Regions from separate parts of the Homo sapiens genome. Here all the other regions are linked to region 5. Evidence: promoter capture Hi-C in 16 types of primary human blood cells and fetal thymus (Javierre and others, 2016). All regions are on one chromosome and are shown on one strand. The core of a region is centred on a gene start or on the middle of the fragment in contact, and the rest is flanking DNA. Distances in the headings are between cores, read along the strand shown.

Region 1 (3,533 bases), core at 416-2,915, 740 kb after region 5:
TCGTGCTTGTCTCATAAAGTACCTGGGAAAGGTTTCTTTTATTTTGTTATTTGAAAGAGTTTATGTGAGATTAGAATTACCTATTCCTTGACTATTTGACAAAGCTTCTTTTTGTGGAAATGTTTAGCTACTGATGAAATATCCTTTAACATTTGTTTGTTTTTGATTGTCTTTTGCAAGTTTTATTTTTTATGAATGTATCCATTTAATTCATTTTCAAAGCTTTGGGCATAATGTTGTTTATAAAAGCCTCTTAATTTTCTGTTCAACCTCAGCAGCATCTGCCCTTGTGTTCCTATTTTCATCCAAAATGTTAATCATTTGTGCTTTCTTATATTCTTCACCAATCTTACCAGTGGTTTCTGACTTTCATTTTTTCAAAGGACCAACTTTTGGCTTTCTTAATTCTTTCTAGATATACTTGTTATTGTTTAAAATATGCTACTATTTTTACTGTGTAACTAGTGCATTTTTTAGGTCTAAGCCCGTAGTTCTCAGCCTGGGATGCTTTTGTCTCCTGGGGACATTTGGCAGTGTCTGGAGATTTTTGATTGCCACATCTGAGGTGAGAGTACTACTGGCCTCTAATGCATGGAGACCAGTGATGCTTCTAAACTTCCTACAGTGCACAGGGCAGCCCTACACAACACAGAATTATCTGGTTCAGAACCTTAGTAGAACTGAGCTTGAGACACTGTGTCCTAAGCAAATTCTAGGAGTTATGCTCATTTTATAATGTTAACTTGCTGGATAGCTATGGGGGAATCACTTGAAAAACAAATTTTCTTTCATTATTTATGTATTCTTGCAGGGATAACCAATTCTATGCTAATATTGTTTTTCCCAGAGTAACATGGCTAAATGTAATTTCACTTGTCTTACGAAATCAAATACAGGCATACCTAATTTTATAGCGCTTTTCTTTATTGTGCTTCACAGATATGTGTTTTTTATTAATTGAAGGTTTGTGGCAATTCTGCTTTGGGCAAGTCTGTCAATGCCATTTTTCCAATAGCATGTGCACACTTCGTGTCTCTGTGTCACATTTTGGTAATTCCTGCAATATTTCAAACTTTTTCATTATTATTATATCTGTTATGGTGATCTGTAATCAATGATCTTTGAGGTGACTATTGAAATTGTTTTAAGGCACCACAAACCACACCCATATAAGATGACAAACTCCACTGATAAATGTTGTGTGTATTCTGACTGCTCCACTGACTAGTGGGGCCTCTGTCTCTCTCACTCCTTGGGCCTCCCTATTTCCTGATACCCAAAAATATTAAAATTAGGCCAAGTCATAATCCTACAATGGCCTCTAAGTGTTCCAGTGAAAGAGAGAGTTGCATATCTCTCACTTTAAATCAAAAGCTAGAAATGATTAAGCTTAGTGAGGAAGGTATGTTGAAAACCGAGAGAGACTGAAAACTAGGCCTCTTGTGCCAAAGTTAGCTAAGTTGTGAATGCAAAGGAATATTTCCTGAAGGAAATTAAAAGTGCTACTTTAGTGAACACATGAATGATAAAAAAGCAAAACAGCCTTATTGCTGATATGGAGAAAGGTTTAGTTATCTGGATAGAAGATCAAACCAGCACATTCCCTTAAGCCAAAGCCTAATCCAGAGCAAGGCCCTAACTCTCTTCAATTCTGAAAGGCTGAGAGAGGTAAGAAAGCTGCAGAAGAAAAGTTGGAAGCTCGCACAGGTTGGTTCATAAACTTTAAGGAAAGATGTCATCACCATAACAGAAAAGTGCAAGATGAAGCAGCAAGTGCTGATATAGAAACTGCTGCAAGTTATCAGAAGATCTAGCTAAGTTAATTGATGAAAGTGGCTACATTAAATAAAAGATTTTCAGTGTAGGCAAAACAGCCTTCTATTGGAAGAAGATACCATCTAAGACTTTCATAGCTGAGATGAGTAGTCAATGCCTGGCTTCAAAGCTTCAAAGGATAGGCTGACTCTTTTGTTAGGGGTTAATGCAGTTGGTGACTTTAAGTTGAAGCCAGGATTCTGAAAATCCCAAAATCCTTAAGAATTATGCTAAATCTACTCTGCCTGTGCTCTATAAATGGAACAACAAAGACTGGATGACAACACATGTGTTTATAGCATGCTTAACTGAATATTTTAAGTCTACTGTTGAGACCTACTGCTCAGAAAAAGGATTCCTTTCAAAACATTACTGTTCATTGATGATGCAACTGGTCACTCAAAAGCTTTGATGGAGATGCACAAGGAGATTAATGTTGTTTTCATGCTTGCTAGCACAATAACTGTTCTGCAGCATATGGATCAAGGAGTAATTTCTATTTGCAAGTTTTATTTAAGAAATACATTCTGTAAGGCTGCCATAGATCAGGATTCCTCTGACAGACTGGGCAAAGTCAATTGAAAACTGTCTGAAAAGGATTCACCATTCTAGATGCCATCAAGAACATTCATGATTTATGGGAGGAGGTCAAAATATCAACATTAACAGGAGTTTGGGAGAAGTTGATTCCAACCCTCATGGATGACTTTGAGGGACTGAAGATTTCAGTGGAAAAAATAACTGTAGATGTGGTGGAAGTAGCAAAAGAGCTAGAACTAGAGGTGGAGCCTGAAAATGTACTTGACTGAATTGCTATAATCTCATGATCAAACTTGAGCGGATGAAGAAAGGAAAAGTGGTTCATTGAGATGACATCAACTCCTGGTGAGGATATTGTGAACATCGTTGAGATGACAACAAAGGATTTAGAATATTCCATAAACTTAGTAAAGAAGCAGCAGGGCTTGGGAGAGGATTAACTCCAGTTTTGAAAGAACTTCTATTGTGAGTAAAATGCTATCAAGCAGTATCACATGCTACAGAGAAATCTTTTATGAAAGAAAGAGCCAACTTCATTGTTGTCTTATTTTAGGAAATTGCCACGGTCACTCCAACTTTCAGCAACCATCACCGTGATCAGTCAGCACCCATCCACACTGAGGCAAGAGCCTCCACCAGCAAAAAGACTATGACTCCTTGAAGGCTCAGATAATCATTAACATTTTTTAGCAATGAAATATTTTTAAAATTAAGGTATATACATTATTTTCAATAACATAATGGTATTGCACACGTAATGGACTACAGTATAGTGTAAACATAGCTTTCATATGCACTGGGAAACAAAAACACTTGTGTGACTTGCTTTATTGTGATATTTGCTTTATTGTGGTGGTCTGGAACAGAACCTACAATATCTCCAGGGTGTGCCTGTGTGGGTTTGTGGGTTTCAATTTTTTTTTTTTTTAATTTCCATAGAGTACTTTTGAAAGCTCAAAAAATAATTAAAAAAAAAAGCATTTTAGATTGAAAGTAACCGTTCTCTTTACCTACCTTAATTGCATTTCTTTGAATTTTACATTTTACAACTGAATGCAATTCATTATACTGAATAAGTTAGGAGACTAGGGAAATCATTAGTTTAGTATTATAATTTAAGATTGAGATACCTGAACTATGAAGTTGGCTTATGTATAATTGATTGTTTTTCTCAGTTG
Region 2 (3,125 bases), core at 536-3,035, 810 kb after region 5:
GGGTTTCTGGGATTGTACTTACATCATAACAGGATTGTTTATGCGTGGAGAAAAAGAAATGTTTCTTGCTCCTGAATGAAGGTGCCTGTACCTCACTGTGGCAAATCAGTGGATAAAACTGATTGCAGATGCGGGTTCCCTTTTTTTACTGTGCAATCCTTCAGTTTTGACCTGGACCTGGAGCTAAATGCTGCTGCAGTCTCCTGTTTGGGTATGGGGGTGGGTGTCGGCTCCATTGGTTCCAATGAAAACCAATTCTGAACACAGTTATTTTGCTAATTTCTCTGCCAATCGCTCCACCCCCTCCTCTTTGTATTTGTTTACTCTGAACCCAAGTACCCTGGATCTTCTCTTACTTCCTCAGTAGCTCTGGCCATAGTGGTTGGCTGTGGTTTCCGCCAATCCTGCCAACCCAGTCCCATCTGCTTTCCATCTTCCAGGAATTGCAGACAAGTTCTTGTTTTTCCACATGTGGTTATAGATTCATTTTGTCTTTTAAATATGGCTTTTCTTTTGAGGAATTGGGGCAGGAGGACAGGTAGCTGGCTAGGCCTGTGTTGTCCTCCTGAGTCTATCATCTTGTGTACTCATTTTTCTTAAGTCAGGAGAGTCTTAGCCATGTTTCCATGGTGATGTGGTGGCCAGTAGGGGAAAAGGGAGGTTGAAGATGCAGAGAAGAGGTGACAATGGCTGCAGCGAAGTCCCTGGGAGAACATGAGGACTTGAAGTTCAGGTGGTGGGCTAGCTTAGGACAGGCAGGACAGGTCAAGAGCAGGCATAGGTGTAGGTGTGTTCCCAGGTTTGGTGGCAGGAAATGAACTGTGCTTCCATTTGTTCCTTCTGTGTTCCCTGTGAGATGGAACTTGAGGTTGTCATAGGCAGAAGGAGAGAGTTGAAGAGTAGAGCCAAGGAGCTCTAGAGAGGGGAGGATGTTTGAGATCACCCCTGTGAAGAGTGTGACAGAGAGCCACTTACGGACACAGAGGCTTCCTGGGTCACCCTGAGGCCACCCCTAGGATCAGATGCCCAGCCCAGAGAGGCTGCCCTGGCCAGTCCGGAAATACTCTTAGAAGAGTGCTGGTTGGGATGTGGAGAAGCTTGACAAGGTTCTGATTAACCTTTTCTACTGGGGATTCTCTTCACAAGGCCCAAGTGGACCAGAACTCAGCGGGCTGGGTTCAAGTCCTCATGGGGCCGCTTAGCAGCTGTGGGATGCTGGGAAGCCATGGCCCTCTCTAAGCCTCTTGTTCTCTCCTTTACTGAGGCAGTGGGGGCATTGACCTCATGGGGCAGCTATGAATAATTTACTGTGAACAACACTGGGACATGGCAGGGGGAGAATGTTGAAAAATTTGGTGGGGGCATTGTTATGAACTGGGCGGGGATACTTACGCCCTTATCATTTATTTTTACGTATCGAAAAACATTACTCGTAAAATCTAGAAAGAGAGTGATTGAGATGGGTAATACCATCACCCTCTGGCTAAGCTATGAAGCTGCCTCTTTTTTCCACCACACTTTGGGGGCCCTTTCCCCCAGTGCCTTGGTGTCCCCTCAATGCCAGCACATCCAATTTCTCTTCCGTCCTCTGCTCACAGATATGGATCTGGTATCAGTCATCTACATCTTAGGGGCAGTTTCTTAGACACTTGGGGGTCTGGAGGGGACACAGAAGCTCTTACTACTGATATTGCAAACCACTCTCCCATCCCCAAGCATCCAGTTTTGACATGGAAACCTCTTGAGGCCAGGTTGTTTTGCAAGGTAAGCCCAGAACACTCAAGCCCAAGCAGAAGACCACGCTCCTTTGAAACTGCATTTCTGCCATTTGGTTGTGGGATTGTTCAGGGGTGGTGTTTGAGATTGGGCGCCTTCTCCCTGCAGGCTCACCAGGCAACCACGGATTCCACTTGCCCCTGAATTAGATGGGTTGCTGGGGGTGCCCAGGCTTATCCCTGTGTGCCCACCTTGACAGGTAAGCTGTGACAGGGCCTCTCTGCTTTGGGCATAACTAACTTTATCCATAGAAGTTCTCAAGCATTGCTGGCTGTATCTGTACCTCACTCCTAGAAAGCAGGAGCTGCTCAAATACAAGTTGGTGTAATCACAGGGAAAGCCGAGCTTTGGCCGGCACGATCTGAAGTTTCTGCTGCCTGGGCCGTCAGCTCAGAGCCGGTGCTGTTTGTCAGCACCAAGCTCAACCACTGAGTGGGACTTTCTGGAGCATCCCAAGAGAAAAGTGAGACTTCAGTAGAGGACACAGAAACCTGTGCCCAGTGGGGGCAATCGGGAAACTTCAATGTGTGACTCGTTCTTTTCCAAAATTCCTCTTTTCCCCTTATTTAATTTTTTTTTCAGAAAAACGTGTGATTTTATATGCTTTTCTCTGCATGTATTAAACAAATTGCACAGCTGAATAGCTTTTCTTAAAACCTGGACATTCACCAAAAAGAAGTTTGCCAGCACAGACAATTAAGCTTTCTTCTTTGAACAATGGAGTGACTGACTGGCACATTTGAAATGCAAGCGTGTTTTTTTATTCCACTGTTCATCCTTCAAGCTGATAAACAGCAACAATGGGAAACAGCTGGGACAGGAAAACATTTGAGTTTGTATTTTCAAAGCAAGCAAGAAAGAAACCCGTCAGTGTGGGCCAGATCCCGTCTTCCGCCTGAGGGCGAGCCGGCATTTGGGGAGGGAAAAAAATACTATACATATTTCTAATCAAACATTACATATTTATTAATGTGCAGCTGGTGCATTGTATTCCGAGGGTTGGTGGTGGGAGTGTCTCTCCCCCCACCCCCACGCCACCCGCCTTGTTCCTCTAATGTGTCTTGCCTGGCAGGCTGGTATTGTTCTGTAACTGACATTACTTTATAAGAATCAGAGCTGCGCACATTTAATAGGAGTTATGGAGACAATTGCTCTCTGAGCGGTTGGGGTCTCTGTGACGTAGGTGCCATCTGAGCCTCAGTTTCTGTTCTGGGAGTGGACAGAATGGGCAATGGAGGTATTTTTAGGCAGATGTACCTGAGATACTGTTGATGGGGAAGCCCCCAGCACCTTCACTGCCACCCCTACACCACAGCCTGGGTCCCATCCATGAAGGCCATGGCTCCTGC
Region 3 (3,096 bases), core at 68-2,567, 720 kb after region 5:
CTAAGCTCATTTCCACTTGTGCTAATGAAAGTTAGGAAAAAAGTTACCACTCCTTGTAGAGTTCACTTTAAAATATGGTACTTGAAAGCTATAGTTTATTACCCTAAAACATTTTTATAAACCTAGCAGTTATATCAATTTTTACTGTGGATTCTCTTCCTTAAATTATTTCAGAAAGCAAGCTTATAATCAAATTTATTTAACATAATGTCCTAATGCACATATAGTAATTTAGTTTTGTCTTAATAATAGATTATTAGCATTAATGATTTTTATTTTAAATTGTGACATGAATAGTTAAGCTACAGGACCAATAGAGTAGGAGCTGTTGGTATAAAGCAATTATTAAGATTCAGGGAAGTTTCTGATTGTAATATTTGAAGACATTGTTCTTAGGAATTTTAAAAAAGAATTTCTTTTCAAAATAGAATTACTTTACCTTTTTCAAAAAAATTTTGGCCCTAAAAATCTAAATACATTTTAAAGAGAACCAAAACAACAGCTCGTTTTTTTGAAAGTTGCTTTTTGACTGTCTTAACCTTCTGCTAGTGACCAGACTCTCTATTCAATAAAGCCTATGTGCCCTTTGCTCCTAAAGACCCTTTCAGAATGTATGCATTCCTCTTTTCACGATTGTTGCTTTGTGTTTTCAAACACACAAACATATTTCACTACCTGGCTTCTCAGAACTGATTCGAAGCGATAAGTTGGAAAGCAACAAGGCCGTAAAAGGAGTCAAATGCATACAGCAGGAAACCACAGAAAATGGCTGATTGCAAGGGAAAACTCTAGACAGTAGATCTGTAGAAAGCATTCGCGACCTCAGGAAGCATAAGATACAGCCTTTTAACAAAATAACAGCCTTGCAGATCAAGAGTTATGCAAAATAATTTACAGTCATAATGATACATCAATGATCAAGAAAAAAATAAGGACATTTTCTTGTGGAAAGTGTTGACATGTTAAAAGCATTTTGGTCAAAAAGAACCAACACTTCAGTTTGGTCCTTTAAAGGAATCCAACCAAATTGAGGGGTTGGATAGCTGTTTGGGCAGCCCTTATAAGGAGTTTTGTTTATATTGTGTCAAGATAGAGGTTTCCACAGGTGTCTTATATAAGTGGCAAATATAAATTGATCCCATTCTTGCTGAAGTAGACAGTGCCCTCAAGTGGAATTAAAACAAACACACCACAAAAAAGAAGAAAAGAGAACCACTTCATGCTACCTCTGCTTTTACCCTCACTGAGTGTTACACAGATATTTCAGTCATGTTGGTTTGAAGGAGGTGCCTAACCTGTATCCTGTCTTGGCTAAACCACATGTCTCATGCTGGCTTGTAGAGGGAGAGACTTTTAGGAACGTTACCATTATGGAATACTTCATTATCTAGCAGTGCTTTCTAAAAGAAGTGTTCCACTGTGTATAGATTTGCCAGGTTGTTTGATCATTAAGTGATTAAATCTAAAATTTGGTTCTTTAGGAGTATTTATTTTTTAATTGCTAGAATAAAATAAATATGATAGTGCTATCAATTGCAGCCATTACCCAGAATAATGGAAATGGATACCTCTATCTCAAGGAAGGATGAAATGAAAGTACTGTCTTTGGAAACCAGATAGCCACATTCTTATGACAGGGATACCTAGGAAGTATTGTTTTCAGCAGAAAATTAATTAAAATAATGAAGTAAAGTCTCAGTTTAAATTAATGAAATTGTGTAGTTTTTTAACCATCAGTTAAAATAGGTTTGAGAATGAGCCTACTTCATTGGAAAGATTATTATTCTTGTAAAAATTTTAAATGAGGACCAGGTGCAGTTGCTCATGCCTGTAATCCTAGAACCTTGGAAGGCCAAGGTGGGAGGATCATTTGAGTCCAGGAGTTTGAAACTGCAGTGAGCTATGATCGCACCAATGTACCCAAGCCTGGGTGACAGAGCGAGACCCTGTCTTAAAAATAAATAAATAAAATAAAAATAAATGAAAATTTGAAAAAGAAATAATAGAAAGAAATTATAATGCAGTTATATCATGATATTCCCTTGCTATGTAGTACAAGTTTTGATGCTACAAAATTGATTTTTAAAATATTTTTAATATAGTCATATTATAATATCTGATATTTGCGATTTGAGAAATCAGATAACTATGATTAATGTGATGAACATTGCCCATCTTCAGAAAAAATATATGAAATGAAGTTGAGTCAGAGGTAAAATGTTCCATTATCACAATATGGCCATATCATAGCTATCATTTATAGGCATGAGCCACACAGCTCAGCCCGAAACGCTACTTTTAAAAGTTTATTAGTGTCAGAATATGGGACAGGCCTGGTGGCTTACGACTGTAATCCCAGTGCGTTGGGAGGCCAAGACAGGAGGATTGTTTGAGCCCAGGAGTTCAAGACCAGCTTAGGCAACATAGTGAGACCCTGTCTCTACAAAAAATAGAAAGCTTAGCTGTGTGTGGTGATATGCGTCTATAATACCAGTTACTCGGGAGGCTGAGGTAGGAGGATCACTTGAGCCTGGAAGGTCTTGGCCACAGTGAACTGTGATTGTGCCACTGCAGTCCAGCATGGGCAACAAGAGTGAGACCCTGTCTCAAAACAAATAAATAAAAATAAATTAAAAAAAGTTAGAATATGTATATAAGGGTAATCTTTAAAAGTTTTTACTAGAATCTGATTTTATAAATTTCAGTGTCTTGGAAGCAAACATTGTGTTGTCTTTGAAAGTACTTTACAATTGGATTTCATTAATTAAATATGCACAGTTACAGTAGATAAAAGTAATACAGTATGTATGTCTTTTAGCCCTTTTAGATATTTTTTGAAAATATTTCATTTGTGTGTATGTGTTTACTGGTCAAATGAAAATTTTAAAAGTCTTCAGTCTTAATTTTCAGTCATGTAGAATGAAGTCTAAAGTTTATTTTTGCTTTTTCACTAGGCATTTTGATTTCCTTTCTTTTTACAGCATGGACACCACGTTGCTGAAAACATGCTTTGGGACTGCCACTGAATTTATCTTTTGCGGTTTTATGACAAAGTTATTAGTAGTTTCCCTTTTTTGAATTAGTATTTTGAAGTTA
Region 4 (3,242 bases), core at 557-3,056, 760 kb after region 5:
TAGGCTCCTTATATTAAACAGAATTTAGTAAATCAAGCAAATTTGCCATCAGCTTTTCTCTTTCTTCTTCAGCCCCTTCCCCTGGTCAGTTCTAATAATTATATCACTGGCTTTAAAGTTAATCACCATTTTTAGAGATCTTTTGAGACCTTTGCTAGAGGGAAAGGTTTTCCCTTTAGAGATCAGGAGAACATATCATTTGATATTTTGTAATCAGGAAAGGAGAAGTTGAGTATGTTTAGGATTTATTTAGAGATGGGGTCTCACTCTGTCACCCAGACTGGAGTGCAGTAGCACGGTCAGGGCTCACTGCAGCCTCGACCTCCTGGGCTCAAGCTATTCTCCTGCCTCAGTCACCTGAGTAGCTGGAATTACAGACATGTACCATCATGCTTGGTAATTTTTTGTATTTTTAGTAGAGACAGGGTTTTGCCATGTTGCCCAGGCTGGTCTCAAACTCCTGGACTCAAGTGATCTGCCCGCCTTGGCCTCCTAAAGTGCTAGGATTATGGGCATGAGCCACCACACCTGGCCAATTTAAATATATTTCTTTTTTTTTTTTTCTTGTTTGTTTCCATGCTAGTGAATACTATCTTATGGGGCATGGTGGGGAGGCAAGAATGAGGGTTAAAATAAATAGCCTTCTCCTTCCCTGCCTGTTTTAATGCTTGTAGAAATGGTGCGGGAAAGCCCGTTTAACCAGGGGAGGTTGAAGCATATATTCTGAAAGGAAATACAAGAAGGACTTCATGCTGGATTAAGGAAGTCACTTCTTAAATCAGTAGCTGTGGGCTGAAGCACTGATTACTCAACTCCTTTTTCTTGATGAGGTTCTCAGTACAGGTGCGAAGAGGGAGTGGTGAGAAAGGGTATACTAGAAACAGGTCTTAGAAACCTTAGTTCTTTGTATACTATCTCTGTAAGGCACGGTATAATGCATATTGAAGCATTTCTTTTTCAGGAAGATGAGTGTGCAGGCTGTACGGATGGAACCTTCAGAGGCACTCGGTATTTCACCTGTGCCCTGAAGAAGGCGCTGTTTGTGAAACTGAAGAGCTGCAGGCCTGACTCTAGGTTTGCATCATTGCAGCCGGTTTCCAATCAGATTGAGCGCTGTAACTCTTTAGGTATTTGGATGCTTTTTGTTTACTTAACAACCTGGAATGACTCTAATTCTAATCTCATATCATGTTATATTAGGTGATGGTGACAGTGTTTTAATATATTTCTTGCCAACGCTCATTAAGCTTTAAATCAGTAAAAATGTTGCATGGTGTATAAGAAAGTTGTTTTAAGAGGGGACATCTTAAAAAAGTATTAGGACGTGCGTTTGGGACTTATAAAGTGAATAATAGTGTGGTTTGTTTTTCTCTTCCTGTTGATGACAGACATTTAGTTTTCAGCAATACTAGTGGTAGAAATTGAAATGTAACCTTCTTTTTTTTTTTTACTGACTTCCCTCACAGTGTCTTGTTTACAGCAGTGAGTGTATCTTACAAAGAAATCAGCATTTTAGTGTAAGAAGTAGATTTCAACTGATTGCTGGAGGACAGCTCTCCTCATCATGTGTAATTGGTGGCAGTTTCCTGGTGCTGTTCCTTTCCACTTCTACATAATAGTGGAAAAGCATCTTGGGGCTTCAGCAGGTGCAAACAGGAAAGCCATCTTTATGAAAAACACTCTTATTATGTTGAAATAGTACTTTGGAATTTTCATTTTCTTTTCAAACTTGAAAGTGAAGCAACTTCAGATAAATAGTGAAATATTTGGGAAACATATTTTACTTGACAGATGCTTTTTACACATAATACTCTAAAGTGTGTTTTTAAATCTTGGAGGAAATGAAGTTGAAAATGAACAATAGCAATTTTTATAAGCCAAGTCAAATAGCAGTTAACCAAAGCCTACTTTCCACTTAAAGAAAAAATTTTGCATCAAAATACAAAAACATTTTAAAATGAAAAAATATTTATGGGAATACATATTGTAATAGTTTAAAAGAATTCTTTTCATTTACTTTTTTTAAAAAAATCTTTTCAGCATTTGGAGGCTACTTAAGTGAAGTAGTAGAAGAAAATACTCCACCAAAAATGGAAAAAGAAGGCTTGGAGATAATGATTGGGAAGAAGAAAGGCATCCAGGGTCATTACAATTCTTGTTACTTAGACTCAACCTTATTCTGGTAAGTTTAAAAAGAATGCAATAGGTATAGATAGTGCCATGAGGCAGGGACACATACCGGTGTGTGTGTGTGTGTGCGTGTGAGTGTGTGTGAAAGAAACTGCCATCTGCCTCTGAGTAGAGAAACTGGATGACTGTGGGTCAGGATTGAAAGGGAGATTTGCTTTTTATGACATACTCCTTTTAAGCTTTTGAATGTTGTCTCATGTTTCTGTGTCCAGAAAGGTGAATGATATTGGTACAATGGAATAGATATACAGAGGGTATCTGGGAAATCTTTGTGCATGTCTCAAACAACATAACTTGCAGTAAAGCCATTGGCTGTTATGTGCTGTATTTCTTTTAGTAGGTAAAGGCAGTCATAAAACTACTGTCTTTAAAAAAACGATTTTCAGTAGCAGCACTGCTGCCCTCATATATGCAATTTTTTCCAAAGTGGAACAACTTAAGATTTTTTTTTTTTTTTTTTTTTTTTTTGAGACAGAGTCTCACTCTGTCCCCCAGGCTGGAATGCAGCGGCACAATCTGGGCTCATTGCAACCTCTGCCTCCCAGGTTCAAGCGATTCTCTTGACTCAGCCTCCTGAGTAGCTGGGATTACAGGTGTGAACCACCACTTCTGGCTAACTTTCTTTTTTGTATTTTCAGTAGAGACGGGGGTTTCACCACGTTGGCCAGGCTGGTCTCGAACGTCTCACCTCAAATGATCTACCCGCCTTGGCCTCCCAAAGTGCTTGGGATTACGGGCATGAGCCACCACGCCCAGCCTTAACATTGCAAGGATCTTTAAGCTCTGGAAATTGAACCAAGAATCTTTAGGCTCTGAGGATTGTAGACTGGGCTAAATTGAGAGTAGCCTGCCAGTTCTGTAGCCATATGATAAGAATTAGGAAGTTAATATGGGATGTTAACATTTTTAAAGTAGGAAGAAGAATAAAGTGGCGGCCATTTTATTTGCAGAATACTTTGACAAAAACAAACCTTGTAGCATTGATATAATATTCTTTAGATTTCCTGATAAAAATCTATATTAGCTAAATTTTCTTTTTCTTTGATAACAGC
Region 5 (3,211 bases), core at 630-3,129:
CTATGTTGCCCAGGTTGGTCTGGAACTCCTGGACTCAAGTGATCCTCCCACTTCAGCCTCCCAAAGTGTTGGAATTACAGGCATCAGCCACTGTGCCTGGCCTAAAGAGGTTTATTTCTGAAGGGTTGGAGCCTGCAGGCTGGCCATCCTTATAGGCTGGGAAGTATGGTCTCTGGCAGAGACCAAAAGCAGGCACTTTGAAGGAGGAAGGGTGAAGCAGGAATTTATGCCAAATGGGTTGGCCAAGTATACATATTTAACAGGTTATAGGAGAAGCTATTCAGGAAAGAGGGGTGCACACATGCATAATAAACAATCATGCATGTTACATGGGTCACATGTTCACTTTGGGGTAGAGACTTAACATTTAAATGCATTACAGTTAGACCCTTTACGTCAAAAGGCGAAGCAGAGAACATAAAGGCACTCATTGTGCAGCCTCTGTAGACTGGCTAGGGCCAATCTATGGTGGGTGGTCTCTTATCAGGAGAAAGTTACTGAAATCAGTCTCTTGTCTAATGAAAGCAGGAGTTATGGCTTGTGGAACAAAGGGATCAGTTAGTCAGTGACTGGTACTTGGTAAGCTGCAATTGTTTTAATATTGCTTGTTTAGCTGCTAGAGGAAAAAAACGAACATTGTGGCAGTTAGAACATCGTTTATTCTTTAAGTGTCTGGGTCTTGAGTGATTTAACCCTTGCCTGGCAGGGCCTTAGGTCTTGTTTATAAGTTGGTATGTTACTGCCACAAAAAAATCTAGCCCATCAGTCTTAGATTCTTTTTTTTTTCTTTTTCTTTTTTGACAGTCTCACGCTGTCACCCAGGCTGGAGTGCAGTGGCTCACTGCAACCTCCGTCTCCTGGGTTCAAGTGACTCTCGTGCCTCAGCCTCCCAAAGAGCTGGGATTACAGGCATGCACCACCACGTCTGGATAATTTTTTTGTATTTTCAGTAGAAACAGGGTTTTGTCATGTTGCCCAGGCTGGTCTCAACTCCTGACCTCAAGTGATCCACGCGCCTCAGCCTCCCAGAGTGTTGGGATTAACAGGCGTGAGCCACCGCGCCCGGCCAGGATCTCTATTTTAACACAACTATTCTTATTTGAAATCAATTACTTATTTGCATGTTTGTTGCCTGCTGTAGCCCTTCCTCTTTGCGGGCAGGAATCCTGTCTACCTGGCTCACACGCGTATCAATACAGTGTCTAGCATGTTAGGCAATAAAATGATTTTGAATGAAAGAATGCCACCAATAAATGAACAAGAAGGCCTTGTGATCAAATACAAATGTAGTCAATCCCTTACAGATCTCTTCTTAAGTTATAGGTATTTGGGCTTACACTTTGCCTCATTTAGGAATTATGAAAGCTGGGTGATGTGAGAGGAAAGTAACCAAGAGAGAAGTGTTTACTTAAGGGGTTGGTTATCTAGGATACCATAATTAAGGAAACTGGTTATTTAGGGTTCTAGTTAGTTCTGTACAGATTTCATTACTCCTTGAGATCCTTGAGGACAGAACCAGCTCTTTGATTTCTGTATCCCTCGCTAGCGACCAGAATAATGCCTGGAAGGTAGTGGGCGCTCAATCAACATTTGACGAATGAAAGAACCAAGCGGGGAACGGGGGATAAATGAATGAACGAACTGGCTCCGGAGGGCTGCAGTTCCTCCCCGGGGCAGCAGGCGACGCCAGCGTTACGCCCGCCTGGCCGCCGGCAGTTCTTGGTCCCTCCGGCTGACCGTCCAACGCTAGGCGCCGAGGCCGGTGCAAGAGACAGCCAATAGAAAGCTGTCTTAGTTGGAGGTCTAGTAGAGGAATCCAATGAGCGTAGCGGGTCTAGGCAAGGGGCGGTGCGACGGGGAGGGGCAGCGGGGAGCGGTTAGAGGTGGGAGTTGGCGCTGCGGGCCGGGCGGGGGCCGCGGAAGCTGCGATGCGGACAGGGCAGCGGCGGTGACCCGAGCTGCCGCCCGACATGAACTCGCTGGAGCAGGCGGAAGGTAGGGTGGGCCGCCCGGGCCCGTCCCCCGTCTCCCCTCGGAAGCTGGCGGTGCTCCGGAGGAGCCGGCGTCGTGAAGACCCCCGCCCCGGGAGGAGGCCGCAGAGGATGGAGCTAGGGGCCCGGAGCTTGGGGGCGCGTAGGCGGCCGTACCTGGCCAGACGCGGGGGGCGGTGCCTCAGCTCCCTGAGTCCCCACAAACCTAGAGGGTCGACCTCCTCGCCAGCTTCTATTTTTATTTTCTTTTCACTGGCAGACACTTGCACTTCGTGCATTGCAGCCTGCTAATTCATTTCATTTCATTCTCACAGCCCCGCGAGTTGTATCCCTGATTCCTGCGGTGGTTTCCGGTAACTGCCAAGGTTAGGAAGTGCTGCTCGGTGTTTTAAAGTTTAAAGCACACCACTGCGGAAAGGATACCCCACCACTCACTCGGAGCAGCTTAGACGCCCCTGTCTTCTAGAACTAGGCGCTGCCTGGGTGCCACGAAGATCACCTGTACCCCTTCGGAGGGGGCAAGGGGAATGTCTTTCCACACCCACTCGCTATCAGTGTCAAGAAGTCTAGTAAGGCCAGACGGCGTAGCCATTAATTAAATATAAGAGCTGGAAACCGGAGGCGGGTAATTGCAGTCAGGTAGACCTCGAAGACTTTGATGTTAGGCACTACGTGGTTCTAATAGGAAGTTCTTGGTTCCCAGAGAGCTAAAACTCGACCTGATTTTAATTTTATTTGCAACCCTGAAAATGTTCGCTTTTGGCGCTGGCCGAGGCTGCTGCTTATTTCTCCCAATACCATTTATGAAGCTTCTAAAAGTAAATCAGCAAGTTTTCTTATATGAGAAATTGGAATTAAAGAGCCCTAATTTTTTGTCAAGTGCTTAAAAAGCTGTCATAGTAAATGAAATAAACAGTGCAGTGATACATGGAAGTTAGTGTGTAAGACCTGAAGCAGTTAAGAGTATCTCACATGTCGTCTTAATGTTAGGTAAATACTCTGACATTTCGTCAGACGAGTAAGAGTGGCTAATTAGAAAATTGACATCTTTATACCTAGATCTCAAGGCTTTTGAGAGGAGACTTACTGAATATATTCATTGTTTGCAACCTGCTACTGGACGCTGGAGAAGTAAGTTCCTGAATGTTATTTTAAGGGAAAACTAACAATTGATACTTTTATCCTAATATAGGAATGATTTGCTTTTATGTAAAATGTTT
Region 6 (3,352 bases), core at 554-3,053, 780 kb after region 5:
GAGCATTTCCTTTGAGTGTCATGTTGGTGCTCAAGAAGTTTTGGATTTTGGAGCATTTCAGATATTTGGATTAGGGAGCATTTAAGATTTTTCAGATTAGAGATGCTCAGTCTATATTATCAATGCTTTTGTGCTACAATGGCTGAGTCAAATAGTTTTGACTGAACCCTTATGGCTCACGCAGTCATTAAATGGCCCTTCCCAGAAACAGTTTGCTTACCTTTGGCACAGAAAATGGTAAAATATAAAATAATTAGGAAGTAATGAGTTGCGAGTATTTGTTACCTTTATTTTAAGTATAATTTCATTTTAAGTTTATATAATTTGTAAGTTTATATACTTTGTTAGCTTAATAATTCAATAATAGATCCATCCAAGAACTGACTCGCAAAATTCCTGAAAATTTAATAATGGGCTCTTGTGAGCCATGGATGCCAGCTCCAGTTTACTTCTGCCATCATCTCAAACACACCTACAGGCACATATAGACTCCTGTGCGCTTCATTTTCTCCACAGCACTGATCCCCTGGCTGCATGGCTTATCGTGGGCTCCTCAGGACCTCCCCTAGTCCCTTTAATTGTCTTTCCTTACCACCTTGATCAGTGCCTGGCACAAACCTCCCGCCTCAGCCTCCTCAGTAGTTGGGACTGCAGGTGCACACCACCATGCCCAGCTGGCTTTTTACATTTTTGTAGAGAGGGGGCTCTCGCTATGTTGTCCAGGCTGTTTCAGCCTTTTATTCGTGGAAGCCCCACTGTCTATTGTCAGTGTGCTCAGAATTAGATTACTGTCCCCATTTCTTTTGAGAAAGCACAAGACGTCTCAGTCTCTAGTTCCCCAAATAATGCTTCCTCTCAGAAGTGGAGACATCGTAGGACTCCCCTGCTAGGGCTTTGATGAACTTTGAATGAAACCATGCACGGAAAGTGCTTATCACAGTGCCTGGCACTCCGTAGCCCCTGAGTAAACAGCAGCCACCAGTGGCAGCAGCAGCAGCATTAGTACTAATATCGTAAACATGAACTTGAGAGACAGGGTGCAAGTCTAATCAGCAGTTCTCTTTCTGCCTCTCATCTCCCTCCACGATCCTATTTTAAGCCACACTCTTTATCCTTTAGATGGTTTTATGAGATTGAGATTTTTCTCAGGCATCTTGTCCCTGAGTGCAGCAGCGCCATCTTGTGGTCATTACTGGTTATGGCGCTGTCCTAGATCTAAGCTCCCAAACTCCGAGCCGCAGCCAGAACCCAGGCTTGGGAGGCAGCAGGGATTTTGAAAGCCAATGTGGCAGTCGGGCCAACACACCAGATTACACACTACACCCTAAGAGGGTTTAAGTTTCCTCTGCGTCATTTCGGGACAGCTGCTTAGTGTTGACCATTTCTGTTTGTGGCTGTCCTCTCTCATAATGGGCTCTGTCTTGCCCTTTCTCTGCATCTGCTGCTCCCTCTGTCTTGAGCTTTCAGGCACCGTCTACAAACGGGGTTTAAAATGAGCTAGCGCCATCTACTGGGCGAATGCCGTAAGGTCGGTTGTGAGGTCCCGGAATCTGCAAAGGAATGAATGAATTACAAATCTGTGGCTTTATGGGGGGAATGTCGGTACGTAATAGGATTCTGATGTCACCTCCCTTTATTTGCGACCCTTTCTCAGTGTAAGCCTCATATCTACTGTGTTAACTTTAGTACAGGTTACTTTGTCAGGATCCCAATGTGAAAATCAACCACACTGTCTTCAGTGCTTCCCAGAGAGGGGTCTTTGGACCAACCTGCGTCGTAGTCATCCAGGGACATTTAAGAATGCAGGCTCCGGCTGGGCGTGGTGGCTCTCACCTGTAATTCCAGCGCTTTGAGAGGCTGAGGCGGGCAGGGCTTGAGGCCAGGACTTTAAGACCAGCCTGGGCAACACAGCAAGACCTTGTCTCTACAAAAATACAATAATAACAATAAAAATTAGACAGGTGTAATGATGCACTTCTGTAGTCCTAGCTACTTGGGAGGCTGAGGCTTGAGGATCACTTGAGCCCAGGAGTTGGAGGCTGTAGTGAGCTATGATCACACCACTGCACTTCACCCTGGGCGACAGAGCAAGACTCTGTCTCTAAAAAAGAGAATTTGGTCTTGGAGGCCCTGTGCAAAATCTACAGCATCAAGCTCTCAGGGTAGGGCCCTGGAATGTGCATTTTGAACACTTCCCCCTTTTCCCACCAAGAGAATCGGGCACACGCTGAAGTGTGAGAACCACTGCCATTATGGAGAAGAGGCTTCCCGCCCCCTCACCTGCCACTCTAGAAATCCAGAGAAGAGATTCCACTTGGATTAAGACTTGCATAAGTGGGGAGTTGAGTCCAGTCTCTTTCCCCCACTGCAATACCCTGTTGCGGTGACATGTAATAATAATAAAAAGACTTGCATGAACTCCTTTCTGTGCAAATGAGAGCAAGCATCTCTGACAAAACCACAGTGCCCCTGTCGCTCATTTTGTGTGTGGTTTCAGTGATAACAGACCCAAAGTCCTGGGACCAGCATCTGGCACACCATGGGGGCTCAAATGGGTCACTACTGCTGCTGTTACCTGTGTGAGGCCGGCTGGAGGCCTCCTCAGCATTCCTCACCCCCTCCCATCCACCTCTGCTTGGGAGGTGGGGGAAAATGGTTTATACTTTCATATCAAGGCTCGGCCTGCCACCTCGGGCCCTTCTCCCAGAGCAGGGCTCACTTCAAGCAAAGCACACAGCCATGTTGGAAAGATTCCAGTACTGAGGTCACCCCCTTCCTGGGTGGCACCTCTCTGAGCCTCAGTTTTCCCATTCCTAATACAGAGAATTGTATTAGAGTCTGTGCTGTCCCTTCCAGCTCTGACGTTCAGGGTGGCTCAGTGCTTTGGAAGCCCCTTCCCCATGTGGCACTTCCATGGTGTCTGGGTCTGGTGTGTGCAGAGACCCCCCCCCTCAGAATGCTGATTTCTCTTGCTTTGGTTCTTTCTCTGCCTGCTACCCCTAACCCATTTTGCACAAATTGTGAGCCATGTAGGTGCCCGATACACGAGTGCTTGGTTTTCAAAAGCCTTCATATTGTGCATACCTCATCCCCAGCAATTCTGTTGCTGGGAAATTTTTCTAAGGCAATCATGATCGCAGATGTGCCCAAGATTAGCCATCAGACTCCGAGCAGCACTGTTTATAATGCTGGCCAAACCTGAAAAAGTTAAATGTGCAGGACTGTAATAAATTATGGTACAGCTAGACTATACCATAACCATTAACCATGTGCAGTCATTAATGATTCTTCTGGAATGTAATTTTTTTAAGGACATGAGCAAAAATTCACACTATATTAGGTGAAAAAAGTG
Region 7 (3,156 bases), core at 87-2,586, 850 kb after region 5:
TCTGGGTTACATGTTTGGCATGTAATTGTTTACTTAATCTCTTTTTAATTCCTTTATTTCCCAGTAAGGTCAGTAACAATTCCCTTATTTTCATTCCTGTGATTTCTTCTTTGATTCATGGGTTATTCAGAAGTGTGTTGTACAATTTCCAAATGTTTGGGGATTATTAAAGTATCTTATTGTTATTGATTGCTAAATTAATTTCATTGTTGTCAGAGATTATACTCTGTAAAATTTCAATCATTTGAAATTGATTGGATTTATTTTCTGGCCAAATATATAGTCTATTTTGGTAACTGTGTCATGTGCACCCACAAAAGATGTTTATTATGCAGTTGTTGGGTGTAATGTTTTCATGAATTTCTAGTAAATCAAATTGGTTGATATTATTTTTCACATACTCTTATATTTTGTCTAACTAGTATGAGAAGCATTTTATAATAAGTTACTATGATTGTGGATTTGTCTATTTTTTCCTAGTTATGTCAGCTTTTGTTTCATGTATTTTAAAATTTATTTTTAGGCTTATAGGCATTTATAATTGTCATATCTTTCTAATGAATTCCCCTTTTGTAATTATGAAATGTGCTCACTTATTTCTAGAAATACTCTGTCTTAAAGTCTATTTTTCTGATAATATAGCTACAGCAGCTTTCTTATGTTTATTGTTTGCGTAGTATATCTTTTTTCTCTTTCCTTTTAATTGTTGTCTTAATATTTAAAATATTTCTTTTGTAGGAATAGAGTTGGTCTTGTTTGTGTGATTCAGAATGACAACAGCTGCCTTTTAACTGGAGTGTTTAAAGCATTTACACTTAATGTAATTATTGCTATGACTGGGTTTAAACCTATGATCTTATATTTGTTTTCTATTTCACTGACTTTTTACTTCTGCCTTCCCTGTCTGCTTCATTTTGGGCATACAGCATACTTTTATATTCTATGTCGTTTTATTTTATTTATTCTCTTTTTAGCTCTATCTCTTTCTATTTTTAGCTATCCTCCTCATCATAGCCTACTTAGAATTAATACTCTATAAATTCACTTAAAATTTAAGTGAAATTTTAACTTTAATTTTAATTTTAACTACGACTTCACTTTAAATTTAAGTGAAACCCTGTAACACTACAATTCCATTTATCTTTAATGTTCTTTCTGTTTTCACATATACTATTTCTATATATGTTGTAATTCCACAAAACAATGCTATTATTTTTGTTTTAAATAGTCAGTTGTCTGTTACAAAACTGAAGAGAGGAAAAGATAATCATTTATGCTTAGCCACTTATTTATTATTTCCAGTGCTCTTTATTTTTTCCTCAATAACTGAATTTCCATCTGATTTAATTACCCCCAAGCCTAAATTACTTTTGAAAGCATTTGTGTTTGTGTTTGTGTGTGTGTGTGTGTGTGTTTGTGTGTGTGTTGAAAGTCTGTTGACAAGGAATTCTCTCAGCTTTTGTTTATCTGCAAATGTCTATTTCACCCTTATTTTGAGCAACATTTTTGCTAGATATACAATTCTGAATACATATATATATATGTGTGTGTGTGTGTGTGTGTATATATATATTTCTTTCACCATCTTAAAATATGTCCTTTAAAAACATTTATTGTATTTACTCTTGGGGTCTGCTGAGATCTTGGATCTTTCAGCTGATGCTTTTCATGAAATTTGGGAAATAATCTTTTAAACATTTTTCCTGTCCTATTCTCTCTCATCACTCTGGGACCCCAATAGCATGTGTCTAACTATTCAGTAAACTATTTAATATTATCCCACAGGTGATGGGGCTCTGTTAATTTTTTAAGTGTTTTCTTTCTGTTCTTCAAATTGGATATTTTCACTGATCTAGCCTCAAGTTCATTGGCTTTTTCTACAATATCTAATATGATTCTAAATATTCACTAATTTTAGTGAATATTTCATTTCATTATATTATGTTTCTTAGTTCTAGAATTTCATTTTGTTCCTTTGTAGTTTGTATTTGAGTCCTTATTTTTCATTCATCATGTCCATGTTTTTGTTTAAATTGTTAAACATATTTATAATAGCTGTTTTCAAGTCCTTGGATGTTAATTCCAACTTCTGAACCTCTCAAGGTTGTCTGTTTTTTTGTTGATTTTGGGTCACTTTTGCCTACATTTTTGCATGTGTAGTAATTTTTATTGTGTTCTGAATATTCTGAATTTTGTTGTCATCCTTTAAATGATGTTGATTTTGTTATGGAAGGCAGTTGAACTACTGGTGGAGTCTTTTGATTCTGTTGGACTGAATTTTATTTTTTGTTAGAGTACATCTATTTAGGTTTTGTCCTTAGTGTTAGGACATGGTTCTTTCTCTAAGATGTGGTCCTTACCTTTTATGCATAGACTTTCTGATTTCTCAGCTGAATGGCTGAGGTGCTCAGTGAGGGTTTCTTCATTCTGGCTGGGCCAGAACCCCCTACACTTTGTAGCCTCTGGTATCACCATTCAGCGCTCAGCCTTCAGCAGCAGCTGTCAACTAGGCTTGCAGAGGCTCACTGTGTATATCCATAGCACATCTATTGGTCAAGGATCTTCAGGGAGTGTGTCCCAAAAGAAACTTCAGGGTCTTATTGTTAACACATCCCCCCATACTCTAATGTCCTGGCTTGAAAACCCGGAGTCATTCAGGCTGGTGAAATGCCCAAGGGAAGAACTTGGGAAAGGGAAAAGTCTTCTACAGAGTGCTTCCTACCACTTTCCAGCTATGTGAACAGGACAACTTGCCTAATTTCCCCATGACTCAGTTTAATCACTTGCAAAATGAGGATAATAGTAGTACCCAACTGATAGGGTCATATTGAAAGCTAAATGAGATAATACACGTGTGATGCTTAGAACAGGGTCTAGCACATAGTAGGTGCTGTCTAGGAATTATCTGCTATTTTTCTTCCTGGCTCTGCAGAGCTTGTCTGTAGCTCATGCAAGTAGTGGCAGCATTTGAAAGATGAAGCTTCATGGTAAGAGAAGCTCATTCTGTATCCTTGTGCTGAGCAGCATTAGAAGCTTTCTGGGGCATTTATAGGCTAGGAAGTTGTCTTAGTTCATTTGTGCTGTTATTACAGAATACATAAGACAGTGTTTTGCCCAGCATACCCAAGAGAATGCTGGATTTGTGCACAATTGTAA

Evidence for each region. Contacts are between HindIII fragments. The CHiCAGO score rates a contact against its expected background, and 5 or more counts as called.
Region 1: a contact is called between a fragment that was not itself captured here and the fragment with the promoter of CNEP1R1 in region 5, in 6 of 17 cell types (total CD8 T cells, naive CD4 T cells, naive CD8 T cells and 3 more). The highest score is 10.1, in total CD8 T cells.
Region 2: a contact is called between a fragment that was not itself captured here and the fragment with the promoter of CNEP1R1 in region 5, in 7 of 17 cell types (naive CD4 T cells, non-activated CD4 T cells, total CD4 T cells and 4 more). The highest score is 8.1, in naive CD4 T cells.
Region 3: a contact is called between a fragment that was not itself captured here and the fragment with the promoter of CNEP1R1 in region 5, in 11 of 17 cell types (total B cells, total CD8 T cells, naive CD8 T cells and 8 more). The highest score is 15.4, in total B cells.
Region 4: a fragment that was not itself captured here is called in contact with the fragment with the promoter of CNEP1R1 in region 5 in 9 of 17 cell types (naive CD4 T cells, total B cells, naive B cells and 6 more); the score reaches 11.8 in naive CD4 T cells.
Region 6: a contact is called between a fragment that was not itself captured here and the fragment with the promoter of CNEP1R1 in region 5, in 11 of 17 cell types (naive CD8 T cells, naive CD4 T cells, total CD8 T cells and 8 more). The highest score is 20.2, in naive CD8 T cells.
Region 7: a contact is called between a fragment that was not itself captured here and the fragment with the promoter of CNEP1R1 in region 5, in 1 of 17 cell types (total CD4 T cells). The highest score is 6.6, in total CD4 T cells.

What each region holds. Positions count from the first base shown.
Region 1 is chr16:50,764,198-50,767,730 of GRCh38, forward strand. The region is part of intron 5 of CYLD (CYLD lysine 63 deubiquitinase); the gene reads left to right. Among named protein-coding and RNA genes, the nearest start is that of CYLD-AS1, 23 kb to the left of the region's middle. The HindIII fragment of the contact is 556 bases long and covers 1,388-1,943 here.
Region 2 is chr16:50,833,711-50,836,835 of GRCh38, forward strand. No RefSeq gene overlaps it. Among named protein-coding and RNA genes, the nearest start is that of LINC02128, 4.8 kb to the right of the region's middle. RefSeq lists an enhancer at 2,071-3,125. The HindIII fragment of the contact is 1,380 bases long and covers 1,096-2,475 here.
Region 3 is chr16:50,746,595-50,749,690 of GRCh38, forward strand. CYLD (CYLD lysine 63 deubiquitinase) reads left to right here. Exons shown (of 19, transcript NM_001378743.1): 3 at 2,982-3,096. Among named protein-coding and RNA genes, the nearest start is that of CYLD-AS1, 5.4 kb to the left of the region's middle. The HindIII fragment of the contact is 2,275 bases long and covers 181-2,455 here.
Region 4 is chr16:50,780,285-50,783,526 of GRCh38, forward strand. CYLD (CYLD lysine 63 deubiquitinase) reads left to right here. Exons shown (of 19, transcript NM_001378743.1): 10 at 962-1,127; 11 at 2,041-2,182. Among named protein-coding and RNA genes, the nearest start is that of CYLD-AS2, 21 kb to the right of the region's middle. The HindIII fragment of the contact is 1,122 bases long and covers 1,246-2,367 here.
Region 5 is chr16:50,023,346-50,026,556 of GRCh38, forward strand. It overlaps CNEP1R1 (CTD nuclear envelope phosphatase 1 regulatory subunit 1), which reads left to right and starts at 1,880. Exons shown (of 6, transcript NM_001281789.2): 1 at 1,880-1,995; 2 at 3,051-3,122. The coding sequence starts at 1,971. RefSeq lists an enhancer at 1,569-2,070 and a silencer at 1,884-2,193. The HindIII fragment of the contact is 11,127 bases long and covers 1-2,798 here.
Region 6 is chr16:50,805,206-50,808,557 of GRCh38, forward strand. LINC02168 (long intergenic non-protein coding RNA 2168) reads left to right here and starts at 1,467. Exons shown (of 2, transcript NR_146573.1): 1 at 1,467-1,602; 2 at 2,213-2,424. The HindIII fragment of the contact is 6,211 bases long and covers 1-3,352 here.
Region 7 is chr16:50,873,190-50,876,345 of GRCh38, forward strand. The region is part of intron 1 of LINC02128 (long intergenic non-protein coding RNA 2128); the gene reads left to right. Among named protein-coding and RNA genes, the nearest start is that of LINC02128, 35 kb to the left of the region's middle. The HindIII fragment of the contact is 3,284 bases long and covers 1-2,978 here.